Regions from separate parts of the Homo sapiens genome. Here all the other regions are linked to region 2. Evidence: promoter capture Hi-C in 16 types of primary human blood cells and fetal thymus (Javierre and others, 2016). All regions are on one chromosome and are shown on one strand. The core of a region is centred on a gene start or on the middle of the fragment in contact, and the rest is flanking DNA. Distances in the headings are between cores, read along the strand shown.

Region 1 (5,678 bases), core at 857-3,356, 1.9 Mb before region 2:
CCTTTAAATTCTGAGTTTCCCAGTGCCTGGAACAGGGCTTGATTTCTGACAGGTAGTGTAGTGGGTTTGATTCCTGCACAAAAATCTGCTTAACCGCAGGCCTAGACTATAACTCTAGGAGGGTGGAGACCCAGTCTCCCTCCCACCCACGGCGTCCCCAGTACTAACATGGAACCTACCCTGAAGCCCAGTCAATACTCTTGAAATGAATGATGGGCTGAACAGATGCTAAAATCACAGACAAGCATCATTTAATCTTGTAATTATCAATCTCAGTTGACACACGGGGGAAAGAGGCTCAATGCTGGCCTGATTTGTCCCTCCTCAAGCAAACAAAACAAAACAAAACATGGCTGAGAAGTGGAGAAGTCAAAATTAAAACCCAGGAGGCCAAGATCCAGCCTTTAAAGCTGAGCTTAATTAATCCTAACCACAGGTGACAGAGCTATGCTGCCAGCCTCGTCTTACTTCACCCCAGATGTGCGGGTCATTTGTTAATTTTTTTATTTAAAAAATTTTTTTAAAATTATTATTGTTTTTTTGAGACAGAGTTTCACTCTGGTTGTCCAGGCTAGAGTGCAGTGGTATGATCTTGGCTCACTGCAGCCTCTGCCTCCAGGGGTCAAGTGATTCACCTGCCTCAGCCTCCCGAGTCACTGGGATTACAGGCGCGCACCACCATGCCTGGCTAATTTTTTTATTTTTAGTAGAGATGGGGTTTCACCATGTTAGCCAGCCTGGTCTCGAACTCCTGGCCTCAAGTAATCCACATACCTCGGCCTCCCAAAGTGCTAGCTCACTTCAGCCTCAACCTCCTGACCTTAAGGGATCCTCCCACTTCAGCCTCCTGAGTCAAAGTTGTTGGGATTATAGGAATGAGCCACCACACCCAGCTACGTTTTTTTTCAATTTTAGATCTCCTCGTGTTACCTAGGCTGATCTGGAACTCCCAAGCTCAAGCAATCCTCCCATCTCAGCCTCCCAAAGTGCTGGGATTACAGTCCTGAGTTACCACACCCAGACAATTACTGGAAGAGTCAATGTTGTCACCACTCCCCAATTTCTGTATGTAATTTCCTCCCAACCAGGATACCCTGCCCCCTCCCCTCAAAGTTCCTCCACTGGGCCAATATCCTTGCATCTATTCAACTCACAATTTTAAAGTCACGTCTTCAAGAGGAAGCCAGCACCCTCGTACCCAGGTGATGGCCCCTGTCACGGCAGCCTATAAACCTACTCACAGTACAGTACAATTGACGTGGAATCATCAGTTGCAATAATTATCTGTGCACGCCTTTGCTTAGTATTTACCTTCCTGGGGTTTATAACACACCCATACGCATGTGGAGGACAATCATTCTCCCCTCCCAACGTGGTCTAAGTGTTTGTGAAAGGTAATACTTTCCTCAGTTTGACTCCAGACTGGAACCTTGCCTGGCCAGAGCCAGGTCCTCAAAATGAACATTAATTGGAATATGAAGAAATAACAAAGAATGGGCAGGAGGCAGAAGGGCATCAGGACAAATAGCTAATGGCTGTGAGGCTTAATACCTAGGTCAATAGGTTCAGCAAACCACCACGGCACGCATTTACCTATGTAGCAAACCTGCACATCCCGCATGTGTATCCCAGAACTTAAATTAATGAAAAAAGAAAGAAAGAAGTAACAGAATGAGGGCCTGGCGCAGTGGCTCACGCCTGTAATCCCAGCACTTTGGGAGGCTGAGGCAGGTGGATCACCAGGTCAGAAGTTTGAGAACAGCTTGGCCAACATGGAGAAACCCCATCTCTATTAAAAATTAAAAAAATAAGCCAGGTGTGGCGGTGGGCGCCTGTAATCCCAGCTACTCGGGAGGCTGAGGCAGGAGAATTGCTTGAACCCGGGAGGTAGAGGCTGCAGTGAGCGGAGATCGCGCCATTGCACTCCAGTCTGGGTGACAGTGCCAGACTCCGTCTCAAAAAAAATAAATAAATAAAAGAAAGAAAAGAAAGAAAGAACAGAATGAACAAGCCAAAAGCTTTTTAATGCAAATTTGAAAGCTAGTGGAGGGTTTGGGAAACCAGACAGGCCTGCAGGGATCAGGGCTATTTCAGGGCTGATTTGCAAGACACTGAACTTTACCCTAATTCTATAGTCACCCCGCCCCCTCCAAACACCCCTAAATACAGGCGAGCGCTCTCTGAATGAAGCTTTCTTTCTCTCTTTTTCCAAATACCCAGCCTTCAAAGAGATGAATGGATTTCTTTGTGACACTCTATTTACTGTTTTAGAACCTTCACTCCCTAAACTCTTCATTCTTCCTGAAAATCTTTTATGGATCATCTCGGGGCTGTAATCCCATTCTGTGGAGAGCAGGAAGTTTTTTAAAAGGTCCCCAATCACTTTTTAGCCGGGGGGCGAGGAGAAACCAAGGGAAGTTGGGAGAGAGAAATTCTTCCTTTCTTTTTTTTTTTGAGACAGGGTCTCAACTGCCTCCCAAGCTAAAGTTTACTGGTACAATCAAGGCTCACTGCAGCTTCAACCCACTCCTGGGTTCAAACAGTCCTTCTACCTTTGACTGCCAAGTAGCTGGGACTACACCATGCGTCTGTAATTTTTTTATTTTTTGTAGAGACGGGGGCAGGGGGGAGGGGTCTCACTATGTTGCCCAGGCTGGTCTTAAACTCCTGGGCTCAAGTGATCCGCCTGCCTTGGCCTCCCAAAATGTTGGGATTACAGGCGTGAATCACCTGAGCTCACCTCAGCTTTAATACTGAATATTAAGCTCCTTGAGAAGTTGGATGTATCCATTTTGTCCACCAAGGCATCCTGATACTTAAAAGGATTCCATGTGTGTTTTCAGTTCTGGGTTTAGAATGTCTTCATCTACATGAGGAAAACCACCTCCACTTCCTGTATTTGTCTCAAAAGTCACCTTTGATTTGGTGATTCCTCAGAAAGTTAAATATCACTTCAGTTAAGTTTAGGGGGGAAAAAGTTAAACACAGAATTACAGAATGATCTACTGGGCGCGGAGGCTCATGCCTGTCATCCCAGCACTTTGAGAGGCTGTGGCGGGCGGATCACGGGGTCAGGAGTTCAAGACCAGCCTGGCCAACATAGTGAAACCCCGTCTGTACTAAAAATACAAAAAATAAAAAAAAAATTAGCAGGTTGTGGTGGCAGGCACCTGTAATCCCAGCTCCTCACTGCAGGAGAGTCGTTTGAGCCCAGGAGGCGGAGGTTGCAGTGAGCCAAGATCACACCATTGCACTCCAGCCTGGGAGTGAGACTCTATCCCACCCCCAGCAAAAAAAAAAAAAAAAAAAAGGAGGAATTGCAGAATGATCTAGCAATGTCACCCCGGGTATATCCAAAAGAAGTGAAACAGGGTCTTTTTTTTTTTTTTTTTAACTTAGGGCTACCTCGTCTCTCCAGTAAAAAGCAGGGTTTGGGCCAGCGTGGTCGCTCATGCCAGTAATTCCAACACTTTAGGAGGCCAAGGCGGGTGGATCACCTGAGGTCAGGAGTTCAAGACCAGCCTGGCCAACATGGTGAAACCCTATCTCTACTAAAAATACAAAAATTAGCCGGGCATGGTGGCACGCGCCTGTAATCCCAGCTCTTCAGGAGGCTGAGGCAGGAGAATTGCTTGAACCTGGGAGGCGGAGGTTGCAGTGAGCCGAGATCACGCCACTGCACTCCAGCCTGGGTGACAGAGCAAGACTCTGTCTCCAAAAAAAGTTTGATTTGGTACTATCACGGAGATCATAATTTAAAAAAAATTATATATATATATATATATATATATATATATATATATATATATATGTATACGCACAATTACAAATAAATAAATAAATAATAAAGTTTGACTTTTTCCCCAACTGACATTTGACTTCATATAATTCAGTTCCATTTAAATGACTTCAGAAGCTTCTAGGCTGTGGAAAGGGGCTCCCTCTCCTGGTTAAGATCTGCCAGCTCTTACAAGTTCCTTTTCAGGTCTACAAACCACTCCGCCCTTGTGCAGCCGTCACAGCCCTCCCTGCTTATCTCAAGACAGACTCTAGGTTAACTGGTGAATAGAGCTTTACTGAGCTATGTGCAGAGAAAACACGGAAGATTACAGCACAAAAAGAAACAACGGAAGCCTGAATATCAGACGTCATTGTTCAGAAATTCTTCAGGTTTAATGCATTCTCTGGGGTCTCACAGACTGTCCTTTGGTCCTTTTCTGTCTTTTTTTTTTCCTTAAATACTCTCCTATCCAGCCTCTCTCATCTTGTAGCCCCATCCGTACCCGCTGTGATGGTAGGACCCATTATTTCCTGAGCAAGTCTGATCTACCTCTTCTGAAGATTCCAGATCTCAAACAACTGCCATCTCTGGATCTCAGTCCCTTTTGCGTTGGAACAATCTTTCCACACCAGAGGGGATCCCTTTTTAGGTTACTATGCCCAACAGTTCTCACTTTATCTTCAATTCTCCATTCTAGGCTATGTTTTGGAAATTGTCTTTCATAGCTATAAGACAGAGAAAGGCTATGCAAAACTACATAACATGGCTACATAATATCAACATTTATTTATTTACTTACTTTTTTTTTTTTTAAACAGAGTCTCACTCTGTCACCCAAGCTGGAGTGCAATGGCACAATTTCAGCTCACTGCAACCTCCGCCTCCCGGGTTCAAGCGATTCTCCTGCCTCAGCCTCCTGAGTAGCTGGGACCACAGGCGCCCGCCACCATACCTGGCTAATTTTTTTATATTTTTAGTAGAGACGGGGTTTCGCCATGTTGGCTAGGCTGGTCTCGAACTGACCTCTGGTGATTCGCCAGCCTTGGCCTCCCAAAGTGCTGCGATTACAGGCGTGAGCCACCGCACCCAGCCATGGAGAGGCACTTGCCATAAACAAGACCAAACCCATGTTAACACAGAGAAAGCGCCAAAAACCTCCAGAGAAAAGAACAGAGGGAAACAGGCCAGATCGGACCTTAGGGAGCTGCTAGTTCAAGATCTGCATAAAATGAGAAGTGGCTGCTGAATTTGATTCAGAGTCAATGCAATGCCCCTTCCTCCTGATTCAGTTTCGCTATGAGAAAATGCAGGCCCACATCTTTGTGGAGAATGCCAGCATCGCCTAGGCACTGAAGAATGTCAGTGGCAAGATTAGGGATGAGGATAACAAAAAGATGTCAATCTTTGTCAACCCCACTGATACCCCCTGCAGAGAAAGCTGAAGTCGGAAAAGGCAAAGCAGATAAAGCTGATGGTGAAGAAGCGATGTGATTCCTCCCAGTCCAGTCTTGACAGCCAGAGACTCCCGTTTGACCCAGACCTGGTGACCAGTGACTCTAAGACGGCATCGAAACCTAGAAAGTGCATGGCTGCCTTTCTGCACGTCCTCCAAGACAACATGCCTGAGGCGGAGTCTGTAGGACAGATGGACAGGGGAAAGGGCTGGAGCCAGGAGACGTGTGCAGACAGGAACTTCCTGTCTACCACTTTCCCGGACAAACAAGTCTAGCAACATAACCTCCATCCTGGAATTGTTCCCCAAATTATTATGCCTGGATGGTCAGCCATCACCTAGACCAACTCTGTGTGGTATTGAAGCCCTCAAGGTTACCAACTTGCAAGGGAAGCTTCTTTGGATGTGACATGCTGCAGAACCTGCTCCTGCAATTTCTGCAGT
Region 2 (5,202 bases), core at 2,425-4,924:
GAAAATCTGAGAATCTTCCCACCCTGGGCTATTTAGCCTCTTTAAGAATGATAGCAATTATGTAGCACTTGTTTACATCTAATACTCATAATAACACTGTGAGGCAGCCATCATCATCCCTTTTTTACTAGGGAGAATCCATGGCCCAGGGACTCCTGTAGTTTTTTCAGCATCATACCTAGCCAGTCAGTGGAGACAGGAAGATTTGTAAACCAGACCGAACAGAGCCACTACCTTTGCACGCTCAAGTGCTGCCATTGAAAGGCGTTCTTCCAAAATTACCAGGATAGGGTCCTGCCCTCGTATAATAAATTTTTTCTCCTATTTCTTTTACTCATTTCCTTCTTTTTTCCTATCATTATCAGTCACTTTCACTGAGGTCTTCCCAGGGACATTGTTTAGTGTAGCTCAGGGTTTCTCAGCTTTGACACCAATGGCATTTTGGGCTGGTTAATTCTTTGTTGTGGTGGACTGTTCTGTACACAGTAGGATGTTTAGCGGCACCCCTGGCCGCTATCCAGAGATGCCAGTAGCAACTCCCCATTCAGGAGTGACAACCAAAAGACATTGTCAAAGATCCCCTGGGAGGCAAAATACCTCCCACCCCCTCCCCCTGCCAGTTGGGTGTCACTGTAACAGTGTAAAGAGTACCAGGCTTTGGAGTCAGTTAGATCTCTACTCTGATCTTATCTCTGACACCTCGATGGTGTAAATTCTTGATCAGTGACATCTCTTTGAGCCCCCATTTTCCCCTCTGCAGAACTGAAATGGTTTTTTGATAAAGACTGATTTTCAGGGGAGGATTAAATAGAATAGACATGGACTGGAGGCTGAGGTGGGGGAATCGCTTGAACCCAGGAGGCAGAGGTTGCAGTGAGCTGAGATTGCACCACTACACTCCAGCTTGGCAACAGAGCGAGACTCCGTCTCAAAAAAAAAAAAAAAAAAAAAAAGAATAGACATGGAAATCATCTAGGATAGGTCGGTAAATCTGTAACAAATTAGAACTCTTAGCCCTCACCAGGCTGTGTGTTGTGTTGTGGGGTACAATCCCGAACCCTGCACTATGAAGCTCAGGGTCAGGACAAGAACGATGCTTATAGCAATAGTAGCTTCTACTTATGAACATTATCCACACACCAAGAGCTTCTCCCTTAACCCTCACAACTCCTCTCATAGGCTCTGTGGATGGGATGTGTTAATATGTGTAAGCACTCAACACACCCTGAGACACGGTGAATATTGATTAATGTTAGTTTTAATTTGTATAACCATTGTACAGACGAGAAAGTTAAGACTTAGATTGAGGTGGGATGTGGTGAGGGATAAAAGATCATTTTTTATACCAAAAAAATTGAAAATTGTATTTCTACTAGATCATTCTATCACATAATCACGCCCCCTCTCTTTCAAGAGAAACCTCCTTTGAAGCATATTTCTTTCCAGCTTCAACCCTATCTAGCCAAATGACCTCTCTGTAAGGTCTGTCTGTAAGACAGAATTTCCAGCCAAACATCCAAAGAGAATGTCTCTAATTCTTCCTTTTCCTTCTTCGCCTCAGCTGTTCTCCTTAATCCACTCCACATTGACTTCTGTCCTTAGCACTCCACCTAATGCATTTTCCCAAGGATGCTTATGACCCCCAGGCTGCCAAATCCAGTGAGTCCTTCTCAGTTTTTAAGACCTGATATCCCAATGACACAGGACCCATTGGATCACTTTCTCCCTTTTCAAACACATTTTTCCTATGCCATGAGATATATCCAAGAGATATGTGCACACAATACACTCTTGGTCGTCTCTACAGCTCGATTCTCTTCCTCTTTTTAGTCCAATTTACGGTGTTTTCTATTCTAAATTTGACTCTAAATGTTGGGGTATCTCACATTCTATAAATGATATCATCCAGTCTCTGGGATTAAACCATTATGCTGTCTTTTCATCTAAATTATCAGCCGTGGCCTCTCCCTGGCACTCAAGTCTGATAAAACCTCTCCCCGTGGGAGTCCCATAGACTCCAAACCTCACATGGTTTTACCAAACTGTTGATGTTCTCTGCCTCCCAGACCTGCCACTCTTCCAATATTCTGTATCTATTTGGAGATTAAATATTCAGTTGTTAAAGCTCCAGATCTAGAACTCACCTTTCATTTCTCTTTTCCTCACCACCCAACGCCATCCACGTCTTACTCATTCTATCTACAGAACATGCTGAATGCACAGCCAGAGCCATTGCCATCTCCACGACCGGTGTCCATGGCCCTGTCAGGCTTGGATATTTGCACAAGCCTTGCAAATAGCTTTTTCCTGGTCCTGCTGCCCCCTCCCCTAAGATCCATTCTCCAGACAGAAACCAAATGAGCTTTAAAAAGGTCCAATAAGATGGTGATGTTATTCGCAATACCTTCCGATGGCTTCCAGACTTCTAAGTTACCCTTATCTTAGGTTCCCTTATCCTAGGTTCCCTTATCCACTGCCACATGTGCCCTGTGCATCCCTCAGACCTCATCTCTGCACTCTCATCAGACACACTGGGCTCCACCCACTGGGCTCTAATTCCTTGAACTTGCAGCTCTTTGTCATCTCAGGGCTTCTGCTTTCTCTATTCCTTCTGCCTACCGTGCTCTTCGTCTTGAGCTTCCTGCACCTGGCTCATCCTGAATATTCATATTTCAGGTCAAATATTATTTCAGAGAGATCCCACCTCACCCACTCTGCAAAGCAGAATGCTCAGGTACAGCCTATCTCACCAGATACTTTTCTCCTTTATTTGTTTGTTCATTTATCTTCTCTCTTAAATACCCTCCACACTAGTACGTAAGCTCCACAGGACTATCAAGATCCTTCAATGCTACATCTCTACAATGCTACATGTCCAGTAGAAATATAATGTGTTAACTTTAGCTACATATGGGACTCAAAATTTTTTTGTAGCCACTGTTTTTAAAAAAGTAAAACACCTTTGGGGAAATTATTTTAGTAATAAATTTTATTTAATTACATATATGATAAAGAATTGGCCAGTCACATTGGCTCACGCCTGTAATCCCAGCACTTTGGGAGGCCGAGGTGGGCAGATCACGAGGTCAGGAGTTGAAGACCAGCCTGGCCAACATATTGAAACCCCGTCTCTACTAAAAATACAAAAAATTAGCCAGGCGTGGTGGCAGGTGCCTGTAATCCCAGCTACTCAGGAGGCTGAGGCAGGAGAATCGCTTGAACCTGGGAGGCAGAGGTTGCAGTGGGCTGAGATTGTGCCACTGCACTCCAGCCTGGGTGACAGCGCAAGACTCCATCAAAAAAAAAAAAAAAAAAAAAAAAAAAAAGAATGTTACTGGAACATGTAACCAAATTAAACACTGTTAATGAAATAGTTAACATTGTTTTCATACTAACGAAGTGGATTCTTCACTGGACTACGCTACTCCAGAGTTAGAAGGGCTCTGTCATATAGCAGGCATTTCAACAATAACTTTAAAATTTTCAGACCCCAACTTACCACCAGCTTAGATCCTTTTCCTGTGCCCAGTTCCTGGATTCCTGTGGAGCAACTCAGGCTCTAAGTACTTGTAAAAAGATGAAGTTATATGTTTGGTTTTAAGATCTTAATTGGCTTTGGTTATAAAGATGGAATCAGACAGCCTGTCATGCTATAAAACAAAATGAGTGTTTTGATAGTTAGAGCCAAGGAAGTTGGTTTTACAGGGATAGGAGGGCTAAAGAAAGCAGAAACAGAGAACAAAAACCTGATTGGTCATCTGGATGTTGCATTTTTTTTGTGCAGCAGGAATAGAGAGACAGCAATAAGGAACAACTGATTGATTGAAGTCAAGTTACCACAGATTGCTTTTTTTTTTTTTTTGTAAAGATGAAAGCAGACAGAACTTCATGTTCATGCCCACTGAAACTGGCCTGTTTTAGGAATTTGTCCATTTTCTCTCTCTCCTGATTTCTCAAAAGTTCAGATACATTAGTTTTGGTTTGGTGATGTGGAGTTTTAGTATGACTGACTCCATTTGGTTTGCTTTGTCGAACCTAGTACAATAGGTCAGTCCAAACCACTTACTTGCTGTTTTTATAGAACAGGCTTCAGCAGAGACTTAGTTGAAGGACACGGGGACAATGGAGCTGGAATCAATCCAGTGACACAAACTCAGGGTTTCTTACCATTCCCAGAAGACACCTTGGAGATGTTCTCAGACGATTTATCTTGGAAACTTATGTGTCTGAATGTTCCTTCACCTCTAGCCTTCTGTGGGAGACTGGAGTTCATCCTTCCAAATATCAAAGGCCAAGAAATCTGAGAGTCCAGGCCCTTTCTTTTCAGAGATTCAGGAAAATGAAAGAAACAATTACCAAGGTGAGAAGAATGAGAGGAAAAACAATAAAAAAACAAAGATGCACGGTGAAACAAAAACTCGATTCTCTACTTTCACAATCCTTCTGACCAAATATACTTTTTCTCTACACCAAGAAATTCTCCAATTCTCTGGGGACACCACCTGGGCCACCTGCAATTAAAAATTCGGTTATGATGCTGTCTACCTGGATTCAGCTCAGATCCGAAAAGCTAAAGGGCTCACTCCCACAAACTGTTCTCAGATCAGATCAGACATCTGTTGCAAGTCCCAGGTGGCTACTTGTACTTCTGACTGACAGGCTATAAATTGGGTGTTCCAATGACACCAATAAATTGCTAGAATGGCACACAGAACTCAGGAAAGCACTTTGTTTGCATCTGTTGCTTTATATAAGGAATATACCTCAGGAATAGTCCATTGGAAAGAGGCATATGGCAGGTATATGGCAGGGAAGGGGTTGGGTGGTGCATGGAGCTTCCATGCTCTCTTCAGGCAGCCACTCTCCCAGCACTCCTGAGTGTTCACCAATGTGGAAGCTCATCAAATCTCATTGTTCAAGAGTTTTTATGGAACTCAATCTCCAGTCCCTGCCTCCCCTTCCTGGAGATCAGTAGGTGGGGCTGACAGCTCCAACCCTCTAATCCCTTGGTCTTTCTGGTGACCAGTCCCATCCTAAGGCCATGATCTCCTTAGCATAAACTCAGCTATGATCAAAAGGGGCTGTTTATGAATAACAAATAATACTCCTATCACTCAGGGAATTCCAAGGGTTTTAAGAGCCCTGTGCCAGAAATCTGTGACAAAATCAAATATGCTTTGAGGTATTTCATACCTCAGAGTT
Region 3 (5,063 bases), core at 1,458-3,957, 2.0 Mb before region 2:
AAAAATTAGCCAGGCATGGTGGCGGGCACCTGTAGTCCCAGCTACTCAGGAGGCTGAGGCAGGAGAATCGCTTGAACCCGGGAGGTGGAGGTTGCAGTGAGCCGAGATCGCGCCACTGCACTCCAGCCTGGGCGACAGAGTGGGACTCCATCTCAAAAAAAAAAAAAAAAAAAGTTTGACGGAGCTTTAAGGGATGACCAACTAAGAGAGGTTTGATGGCCCCTAACAGGAGGGGTAAATCCCAACAGGGGCCAGGTGCGGTGTCTCACGCCTGTAACCCCCGTACTTTCAAAGGTGGAGGCAAGATGGGTTGCTTAAGTCTAGGAGTTAGAGACCAGCCTAAGCAACATAGCAAGACTCCACTGTTACTAATTAGCCAACTACTATTAATTAGTACAATTAATTACCCAGGAGTAGCAGCACATGCCTGTAGTCCCAGCTACTCTGGGGACTGAGGTGGGAAGATCGCTTGAGCCCAGGAGGTCGAGGCTGCAGTGAGCTGTCATTGCATCACTGCGCCCCAGCCTGGGCAACAGAGGGAGACGGTGAAAAATGGCCAGTAGGGGCCCTCAGAGGCCACCCAGCCCTGCCAAGCCCTGGCTGCATCGGAACATAGTAATATTTGAGCTCTGGGGTGGGTGCCACTGCCATCTAGTGGACGACACTAGGAATGCATGCCAACATCCAGCAAGGAATGCACAGGACAAAGCACTTGGTCCAAAGGCAAATTGTGCCAAGTTGAGGAAAGCCTATTCTCAAATGTCACAGGATACATGGGGCAACTCAGCATTTGGGAAGAGACTGGTATGCAAGCTAACCCTCAGAATGCTTGTTATGCCAACAGCCCTGATCCTCCCTTGCTGGAGGGGATAATGTCTGAAATCTTAACGTGGCAGGCATGTCAGGATGGCCCCCTGCCTGGAATTCACTGGGCCCTGCCAAGAACTGACACCTACAAGGCCACGTGTAGGCTGGCCATAACCTATTATACACTGTGCTTTCAACAAAAATACCGCCAGATGCGGTGACTCATGCCTGTAATCCAAATACTTTCGGAGGCCAAGGCAGGCAGATCAGCTGAGGTTAGGAGTTCGAGACCAGCCTGGCCAACATGGTGAAACCTACTAAAAATACAAAAATTAGGCTGGGCACGGTGGCTCATGCCTGTAATCCCAGCACTTTGGAGGCCGAAGCGGGCGGATCACTAGGTCAAGAGATCAATACCATCCTGGCTAACACAGTGAAACCCCATCTCTACTAAAAATACAAAAAATTAGCTGGGTGTGGTGGCATGCACCTATAGTCCCAGCTGCTGGGGAGGCTGAGGCGGGAGAATCGCTTGCACCTGGGAGGCAGAGGTTGCAGTGAACCGAGATCGCACTACTGCACTCCAGCCTGGGCGACAGAGCGAGACTCCATCTTAAAAAAAAAAAAAAAAAAAGGGTGTGGTGGCTCACACCTGTAATCCCAGCACTTTGGGAGGCCAAGGAGGGCAGATCACCTGAGGTCGGGAGTTCAAGACCAGCCTGACCAACATGGAGAAACCCTGTCTCTAATAAAAATATAGAATTAACCAGGCGTGATAGCACATGCGGGTAATCCCAGCTACTCGGGAGGCTGAGGCAGGAGAATCACTTGAACCCGGGAGACAGAGGTTGCAGTGAGCAGAGATCACGCCATTGCACTCCAGCCTGGGTGATAGAGACGCCGTCTCAAAAAAAAAAAAAAAAAAAAAAAAAAGAGGAATCCATATTCCCTTGGCTGGGTGCAGAGGCTCACGCTTGTAATCCCAGCACTTTGGGAGGCCAAGGCGGGTGGATCACAAGGTGAGGAGATCAAGACCATCCTGGCCAACATGGTGAAACCCCGTCTCTACTAAAATACAAAAAATTAGCAGGGCGTGGTGGAGGGCGCCTGTAGTCCCAGCTACTCAGGAGGCTGAGGCAGGGGAACCACTTGAACCCAGGAGGCGGAGGTTGCAGTGAGCCGAGATTGTGCCACTGCACTCCAGCCTAGTGACAGAGCAAGACTCTAAAAAAAAAAAAAATGCATATTCCCATTTCAATACACAGAAACCTATATTCCCATTATTAGGAATTCGAACTAAGAATCTTTAAACTATGTCACTGCCCGGTGGGAAATCAGGTCCCCATGCTGTGCTCAGCCCACACACTGGAGATCTACAGACCAGAACCTGCAAGGAGACTGAGGCAGTTTCAGAAAAAGTGACCTTACAACTCCAGAGATCAGATACTGATTCAGTCCTGTAGACATAATTGTCCCATTGGCCAGGTGCAACAGCTCATGTCTAATTCCAGCTCTTTAGAAGGCCAAGAATTTTTACACCAACCTTAAGGTGCCGCCTGAACACAAAAAAATTATCTACTCTATGTACTACTATCTATCTACCCCAGAAGGGGTATTCATGCATAGACCCAGCTACTGAAGCTGAGGAAAAATGCTTGAGTCCAGGAAGTGGAGGCTACACCTAGCTCGACAGAACCGCTACATTCCAGCCTAGATGACATGATCGTCTACAAAAAAGAAACTAAAAATGGCCCACCATTACCACGTAAAACTGTGCCTTAAGCTTTCTGCAATCCCAGCACTTTGGGATAAGAGATTGTTTAGGTTTCAAGACCAGATTGGGCAACATAGTGGGATCCTATCTCTAAATTTTTTAAAAAGTTATTTACCCAATATTCTTTATATGTCTGCATTCAGTCCTGTTTCCACAGCTGCTTCTGAAGCAAACAGCCCTGCTTACAAACCACCCCCACCTACACCCTGCTGGCCATACAGGCTAAACCCTAAACAAGCTTAAGAAACTCAACTAAAGGCTGGGCGCAGTGGCTCAAACCTGTAATCTCAGAATTTTGGGAGGCCAAGGTGGGTGGATCACTTGAGGTCAGGAGTTTAGTGAGACCAGCCCGGCCAACATGGGGAAACGCCATCTGTACTAAAAATCCAAAAAAAATTAGCTGGGCATGGTGGTGGGTGCCTATAATACCAGCTACTCGGGAGGCTGAGGCAAAAGAATCGCTTGAACCTGGGAGGTGGAAGTTGCAGTGAGCCAAGATCATGCCATTGTACTCCAGTCTGGCGACAGAGCGAGACTCCATCTCTTTAAAAAAAAAAAAAAACAAAAAAAAAAACACAAAAACAAAAAACCCTCAACTAACAATCCCCAAGCTGCCCGTAGAAAAGATGACAGGAGGCCCAGGTAGGTCAAATATAAAGAGAAGTCTTACTGGTTACCGTGGCGGACTCCCCACCAGTGGTGGCGGTATTGGGACAGAGGCTACAACTGCTTTATGAATTGCGGGTACAAATAGCAAAACAAAACTCCCTTGAATTTGAGATCTTACTTCAGTTCAGATACTGTGGAGTGGGCAAAGCAGCCGCAAGGGTTTGGAACACCTACAGGGGATAGGAAAACTTACAGGGGATAGTGGCCAGCAGACCCGGAAACCAGTGATAGGGCAAACAGCAACTAAGAACCTACTGAAGGCCCCACGTGGTGGCTCACGCCTATAATCCCAGCACTTTGGGAGGCCGAGGTGGGTGGATCACCTGGGGTCAGGAGTTCCAGAGCAGCCTGGCCAACGTGGAGAAATCCCATCTCTAAAAAATGCAAAAAATTAGCCAGGCGTGGTGGCTTATGCCTGTAATCCCAGCTACTTGGGAGGCGGGGGCAGGAGAATCGCTTAAGCTGGCAGAGGTTGCAGTGAACCAAGATTGCGCCATTGCGCTCCAACCTGAGCGAGAGCACGAGACCATCTGAAGCAAAAAAACCTTCCAAATATGAACTTAGGCCTGGCACTGTGGCTCACACCCATCATCCCAGGGAGGCCACCCAGGGCAAGACAGTAAAGCCCCATCTCTACTAAAGGAGGGATGTTTGATTCCCCCTAAGTTTCAGACCAAGCTGGCCAATGTATGAGACCCCAATTTCTACTAAACATTAGTGGAGCATGGCGGGGACACTCCTGTGGTGCCAGCTACTAAGGGTGGGGTGAGGGGGGGCTTATATGGGAAGATCTTTTGATCTAGGGAGCTCAGGCCTGCAGGGAGCTGTGATGGTGCCACCACACTTCAGCCTGGGTGGTTTTTATTTTTTGAGACAGTTATCGCTGTCACCCAGGCTGGAGTGCAGTGGCACAACCTCGGCTGGCTGCAAGCTCCACCTCCCGGGTTCATGCCCTTTCTGCCTCAGCCTGTGACTACAGGCACCCACCGCCATGCCCGGCTAATGTTTTTGTATTTTTTAGTAGAGATGTGGTTTCACCGTGTGAGCCAGGATGGTCTTGATCTGACCTCATGATCAGCCTGCGTCGGCCTCGGCAGTGCTGCCACTGTGCCCGGCCTTACTTTTTAAACTTGTTTGAAGTTTAAAGAGCAGAACTCTCAAAGAGCATAACTCTAAGTTCTAGCAGGGGTAGAAGGGAAGCACAAAATACTGACAAGTATTTTTAGGCAATGTACTTGGGTCATAGAAGAAGGTTCAGTAACGCCAGACATGAGGCTCATGCCTGTAATCCCAGCACTTGTGGGTGGCAGAGGAACCCAATAGACCAGAAACACATGATGTTGTTCACATTTTATTAAAAAAAAAAGTTAGGAAAAGTGAGACTGTGGCATTGTCCGTGTAGCAGGGTGGAAGCACTCCAGCCCATGCTCTGGCCAAACCCACTTCAAGCCTTACATGCATGCTGCCTACCAAATTCAGGAACAGGACCCCAAATTCCCTTTAAGGCCAACCAGATTCCCCCGACACCCCATCAAGCTTTTCCTGCCCTGTTCATCTGCAGGTGAACCCCGTATCCTGCCCACCCCAGAATATGCCAATTTTTATTATCTAAAATGGAGCATACAGACTGGTGCCCCGCAGAGAAGCCCGGGAACTCCAGGTCATAGCTGAAGCTGCAGTCAGACCCGCAGGCTCCCTTGAAGCAGGATGGTTCGTGATGCCCTACTCAAACAGGGACACCCCAAAATCGAAGCACTTCCCAGTACAGACAAAAAGGAAAGCGCCCCCATTTTGAGTATCCCAGTATGAGCTC
Region 4 (5,621 bases), core at 2,765-5,264, 1.8 Mb before region 2:
ATCCTCTTTGTGGAACCCTACTCAATCTACTCCCAGGAAGGAGCAGAAATGAGAGATTTTGGGGACAGAAATTGAGACAGGGGTCAGAAAACCCAGAGCAGGGGATAGGAGAGCAAGGGGATCAGTCGCAGGGGCTGCTCTGGGGCTCAGGCCAGCCAGCTAAGGCTGGTGGCCAAATCTGACCACCCCCTGTCTTTGTATCACCCATGCACTAAGAATAGGCTTTACGTTTTAAAATGGTTGAGAAAAAACAAACACAATAAGAGTACTATTTTGTGTTGTATGTGTGTTGGGACTGAAAGAAAAAAGAGAGAAAATAAAAGAATACTACTGGCCAGGCACAGTGGCTCATGCCTATAATCCCAGGACTCTGGGAGGCTGAGGTGGGTGGATCACTTGATTTCAGGAGTTTGAGTCCAGCCTGGGCAACATGACGAAACCCCATCTCTACAAAAAACACACAAATTGGCTGGGCCTGGTGGTACACACCAGTAGTATCAGCTGCTCGGGAGGCTGTAGTACCACACACCTGTAGTCCCACCTACTTGGGAATCTGAGTGGGAGGATGGCTTCAGCCCAGGAATTCAAAGCTGCAGTGAGCTATGATCGTGCCACTGCACTCCAATGTGGGCAAGAGCAACACCCTGTCTTAAAACAAAACAAAACAACACTATTTTGTAATGTGAAAATTGTATAAACTTCAGGCCAGGCGCAGTGGCTTATGCCTATAATCCTGACACTTTGGGAGGCCAAGGCAGGTGAATCACTTGAGACCAGGAGTTCAAGATCAGCCTCCTGGGCAATATAGCGAAACCCCATCTCTACAAAAAATAAAATACAGCCGGGCTCATGCTTGTAATCCCAACACTTTGGGAGGCGTAGTGTGCACCTGTAGACCTGTAGTCCCAGCTACTTGGGGTGCTGAGGTGGTAGGATTGCTTGAGCCCGGGAGGTCGAGGCTGCAGTGAGCTGTGATTGCACCACCGTGCTCCAACCTGAGTAAAAGAGTTTCTGGGAACACAGATGGGCCTCTTGTTTACGTTGTCTGTGGCTGCCTTCGCACTGTGGTGGCATAGTTAAAATAGTTGCTAGAGAGACGGTATGGCCCACAAAGCTTCAATTATTTACTACCTGGTCCTTTACTGGAAAAATTTTCCCATTCTTGCTCTAGGGGGTTGAAGAAAGGTTTACGGGGACGTGAGTAGGAGAGTGTGGGTTTGGGGAATATTGGCGATTGGAATGAGACCTCAGGAATTATCCTAGAGGGACTCTGAATTTAGATTAGATCAGGAAGGCAGTTTAGTGAGAAGAGGGATCATTTTCCAACCTGCAGTACTGTTGGGTGTATGTCTATTTTCGAGGCCATTTCTTTCTGAAGGCTGGGGTTTGGGTATGGGTTCTCATTGAACAAGATGTTCAGATCTTCCAGTTGCTTCTTAGTGAACATGGTTCGTTTCCTGTGTGAATGCATCTGGTCCTTGCCTTGAAAGAGGAGGAAAAAGACACAAATGGGAAATGCTAACAACTCCATTCTCAAAAGCCTGAGCTTTCCTTTCCTTTCCACTGAGGTACAACGTGATGATCAAGTGACTGAGGTTCTGTCACCGAGGCTGGAGTGCAGTGGCACAATCTCAGCTCACTGCAACCTCCACCTCCTGAGTTCAAGCGATTCTCCTGCCTCAGCCTCCCGAGTAGCTGGGATTACAGGCGCACGCCACCATGCCCGGATAATTTTTGTATTTCTAGCAGAGACAGGGTTTCACCATGTTGGCTAGGCTGGTCTCGAACTCCTGACCTCAGGTGATCCACCCGCCTCGGCCTCCCAAAGTGTTGGGATTACATGCGTGAGCCACTGTGCCCGGCCGTGACTGAGGTTCTTAGATATGGAGACACTGCTGGCCGGGGTCGTGCCTCAGGCTGCAGTCCCAGTACTGTGGGAGGCTGAAGCGGGAGGACAACTTGATCTGCCTTTTGTCCTTGTTTTTCCAAGCCTCATTTGTCATTTTCATAGGAAAAGGTTGTTCCTTTCCCCCTTGGTTCCTCCATCCTTTTTTTCTGTTATCATTTAAATATGGGATCCCTTGCTCACGCCTGTAATCCCAGCACTTTGGGAGGCCAGGGCGGGCAGATCATATCAGGTCATGAGTTTGAGACCAGCCTGGCCAGCATGGTGAAACCCCATCTCTATTAAAAACACAAAAATTTGGCCGGGCACAGTGGCTCATGCCTGTAATCCCAGCACTTTGGGAGGCCAAGGCGGGCGGATCATGAGGTCAAGAGATCAAGACCATTCTGGCTAACATGGTGAAACCCTGTCTCTACTAAAAGTACAAAAATTAGCTGGGCGTGATGGTGCACGCCTGTAGTCCCAGCTACTCGGGAGGCTGAGGCAGGAGAATCGCTTGAACCTCAGAGGCAGAGGCTGTGGTGAGCCGAGATTATGCCACTGCACTCCAGCCTGAGACAGAGGGAGACCCTGTCTCAAGAAAATAATAAATAAATAAATAAATAAATACGTAAATAAGGGATCGCTTGTGCCTTACCTCTTGGGTTCTATTTTCTTTGTGTAGAAATAGGCAACTCAATCCAAGGTGAAATGGATGGACATGGTTTTATTCTTATCATTTATTCAATGTTCATTAAGTATATTCTTTTAGGAATATAGCAAGGAAATAAGCAGAAAAATAACATCACTGCTGTCACGGATGTCACCTTTTACTTTCTTTTTCTTGAGACAGTGTACTGCTGTGTTGCCCAGTGGCATGATCACAGCTCACTTCAGCCTCAACCTCCCCAGGCTCAAGCGATCCTCTCACCTCAGCCTCCCGAGTAGCTGGAACTACACAACACTGACATGCCCGGCTAATTTTTGTATTTTTTGTAGAGACAACGTCTTGTTTTGTTGCCCAGGCTGGTCTTGAACTCCTGGGCTGAAGCGATCTGCCCACCTCGGCCTCCCAAAGTGCTGGGATTACAGGCATGAGCCACCGCATGCCTCGCTCTAAAAGATCTGAATCGCATCATGCCTGAAAATGGTTTGGCAGCAGCTCCAGAGTCTAGTAAGTGCTCATGAACATGAGATTTCCAGCTTGGCTAAGCCTATATTCTATCTAGGACCTAATCATCCTCATAGGAATCAGATTCCCCTGTGCTCAAGAACAAGCATCGGGGTGGGAAGAATTAGGACACAACTACGAGGGAGAAGATTTCGGATTTGAAGGCAGAAACAGGCTTCCCTGCATTTGCCTGTGCTGTCAGATGACAGCCGCGGCCGGGCACCGAGGCTCATGCCTGTAATCCCAGCACTTTGGGAGGCCGAGGCCAGCCAATCACATGAGGTCAGGGGCTTGAGACCAACCTAGCTAACATGGTGAAACCCCATCTCTATAAAGATACAAAACTTGGGCCGGGTGCAGTGGCTCACGCCTGTCACCCCAGCACTTTGGGAGGCTGAGCCAGACGGATCACAAGGTCAGGAGTTCGAGACCAGCCTGGTCAATATGGTGAAACCCCCGGCTCTACTAAAAATACAAAAAAAAAAAAAATTAGCCAGGTGTGGTGGCGTGTGCCTGTCATCCCAGCTACTCGGGAGGCTGAGGCAGGAGAATTGCTTGAACCTGGGAGGTGGAGGTTGCAGTGAGCCGAAATCGTGCCACTGCACTCCAGCCTGAGCGACAGAGTGAGACTGTCTCAAAAGACAAACAAAACAAAACAAAACAACAACAACAAAAACGATGACAGCCTCTGTGGGAAGTCCCTGCCACCCACGTGGACGAAGCACCAGCTTCGGCCGCCTGGTCCCTCTGCCTTTTCCCGCCGCCAGCTGCTTTCCACTTCTTCACGTGTCTTTGCTTCGGTTCTCATTTTTTCTGGCTTACCTTTACGAAGATCCTCTGAGCCTGGCATCTTCTAATCCAGATGTGCGCCTGGGTTCAGGTCCAGGGATAAGAACTAGCAAAGATCAAATCCGGATTTAAGTAGCTTCCTCCACAGCCACACCCGACTCCCACCTCCTCCACCTTTCTCTGCCCTATCTGCCTCCAATATGATCCCTCGGTCCTCCAGAGCCCCCTGGATTTCTCCCAATACTGTCATTTTATCTAATATTGATTGAGCGGAGACCAACGACTCAAAGGCGAGTCCACAAACCAGCCCCACTAACACTCCTGGGAGTTGTTAAAATGCAGAATCCTGGCCCACTCCAGACTTCCTGAGCAGAAGCTGCAATTTCTTTTCTTTTTTTCTTTTTCTTTGAGACAGAGTCCCACTCTGTCACCCAGGCTGGAGCGCAATGACACCATCTTGGCTCACTGCAGCCTCTGCCTCCCAGGTTCAAGGGATTCTCATGTCTCAGCCTCCCGAGTAGCTGAGATCACAGGCCTGTGCCACCACTCCTGACTAATTTTTGTATTTTTAGTAGAGACGGAGTTTCCGCCATGTTGGCCAGGCTGGTCTTGAACTCCTGCCCTCAACGTTTCTGACTCGGTCTGGGGTGGGATCTGATGATTTCCATATCTAACAAGCACCCAGGTGACCAGGCTCCGTAATGGGGACCGGGAATGTGATTGTGAATAATGAAGTCCAGGTTTAAACCCTAAAGGGGCTTTCAGGCAACTTATATATTCTTTAGTGGCTAATATATGCTTGGCATTGTTCTGCATATCCTGATTTAGTTAACTCACTCAGAAATCATCTCATTTTATTTATTTATTTATTTATTTAGAGATGGAGTCTCACTCTGTCACCCAGGCTGGAGTGCAGTGGCACGATCTCGGCTCACAGCAACCTCCGCCTCTCAGGTTCAAGCAATTCTCCTGCCTCAGCCTTCCCAGTAGCTGGGATTACAGGCACCCACCACCAAGCCTGGCTAATTACAGGTGGCTCACACCTGTAATCCCAGCACTTTGGGAGGCTGAGGCAGGCGGATCACCTGAGGTCAGGAGTTCGAGACCAGCCTGGCCAACATGGCGAAACCCCATCTCTACTAAAAATACGAAAATTAGCTGGGTGTGGTGGTGGGCACCTGTAATCCCAGCTACTCAGGAGGCTGAGGCAGGAGAATTGCTTGAACCCAGGAGGCAGAGGTTGCAGTGAGCTGAGATCGCACCACTGCACTCCAGCCTGGGTGACAGGAGTGAGACTCCATCTCAAAAAAATAAAAGAAAAAGCTGCAACACCTTTCAGATGCCCAGGCTCACACCATGTATACCTTTTATCTTGACGACAAGGGCAGTTTGACTTCAGGTTCACAGAAGTGGCAGTTTTTCTTGCCATTCCATCCATTTGAATCTCAGTTCTGCACATCTCTACTTGTGACAGTGGTTAGCCTTTGCATAAATGAGCTTGTAGCTACTTTTTTTTTTCTTTTTGAGACAGGGTCTTGCTATGTCTCAAAAAACACAGCTGACTGCAGCCTCGACCTACTGGGCTCAAGTGATCCTCCTACATTTGCCCCCAAGTAGCTGTGACTACAAAGGCCTAGGCCCAGCCTGGAGTGCAGTGGCAAAATCATAGCTCAATGCAGCCTTAACCTCCTGGGCCTAGGTGAGCCTCTCACCTAAGCCTCCTGAGTAACTGGGACTACAGGTGCACACTACCATACCCAGCTAATTTTTGCATTT

What was found. Contacts are between HindIII fragments. The CHiCAGO score rates a contact against its expected background, and 5 or more counts as called.
Region 1: a fragment that was not itself captured here is called in contact with the fragment with the promoter of FPR3 in region 2 in 9 of 17 cell types (naive CD8 T cells, non-activated CD4 T cells, fetal thymus and 6 more); the score reaches 13.5 in naive CD8 T cells.
Region 3: a contact is called between a fragment that was not itself captured here and the fragment with the promoter of FPR3 in region 2, in 4 of 17 cell types (total CD4 T cells, naive CD8 T cells, non-activated CD4 T cells and 1 more). The highest score is 7.1, in total CD4 T cells.
Region 4: a contact is called between the fragment with the promoter of DPRX here and the fragment with the promoter of FPR3 in region 2, in 5 of 17 cell types (naive CD8 T cells, total CD4 T cells, total B cells and 2 more). The highest score is 11.1, in naive CD8 T cells.

The regions. Positions count from the first base shown.
Region 1 is chr19:53,657,795-53,663,472 of GRCh38, reverse strand. The region is part of intron 2 of LOC107985342 (a long non-coding RNA gene); the gene reads right to left. It also overlaps the pseudogene LOC100288093. Among named protein-coding and RNA genes, the nearest start is that of MIR512-1, 6.0 kb to the left of the region's middle. RefSeq lists enhancers at 1,353-2,242, 2,243-3,132. The HindIII fragment of the contact is 172 bases long and covers 2,021-2,192 here.
Region 2 is chr19:51,793,629-51,798,830 of GRCh38, reverse strand. It overlaps FPR3 (formyl peptide receptor 3), which reads right to left and starts at 3,674. Exons shown (of 2, transcript NM_002030.5): 1 at 3,500-3,674. The HindIII fragment of the contact is 12,110 bases long and covers 1-5,202 here.
Region 3 is chr19:53,788,694-53,793,756 of GRCh38, reverse strand. It overlaps NLRP12 (NLR family pyrin domain containing 12), which reads left to right. Exons shown (of 10, transcript NM_144687.4): 10 at 1-16. MIR373 (microRNA 373) reads right to left here and starts at 5,052; the gene lies at 4,984-5,052. RefSeq lists enhancers at 610-1,110, 1,111-1,611. The HindIII fragment of the contact is 229 bases long and covers 2,593-2,821 here.
Region 4 is chr19:53,630,392-53,636,012 of GRCh38, reverse strand. DPRX (divergent-paired related homeobox) reads right to left here and starts at 4,014. Exons shown (of 3, transcript NM_001012728.2): 1 at 3,879-4,014; 2 at 1,328-1,482. The coding sequence starts at 3,906. The HindIII fragment of the contact is 17,175 bases long and covers 1,117-5,621 here.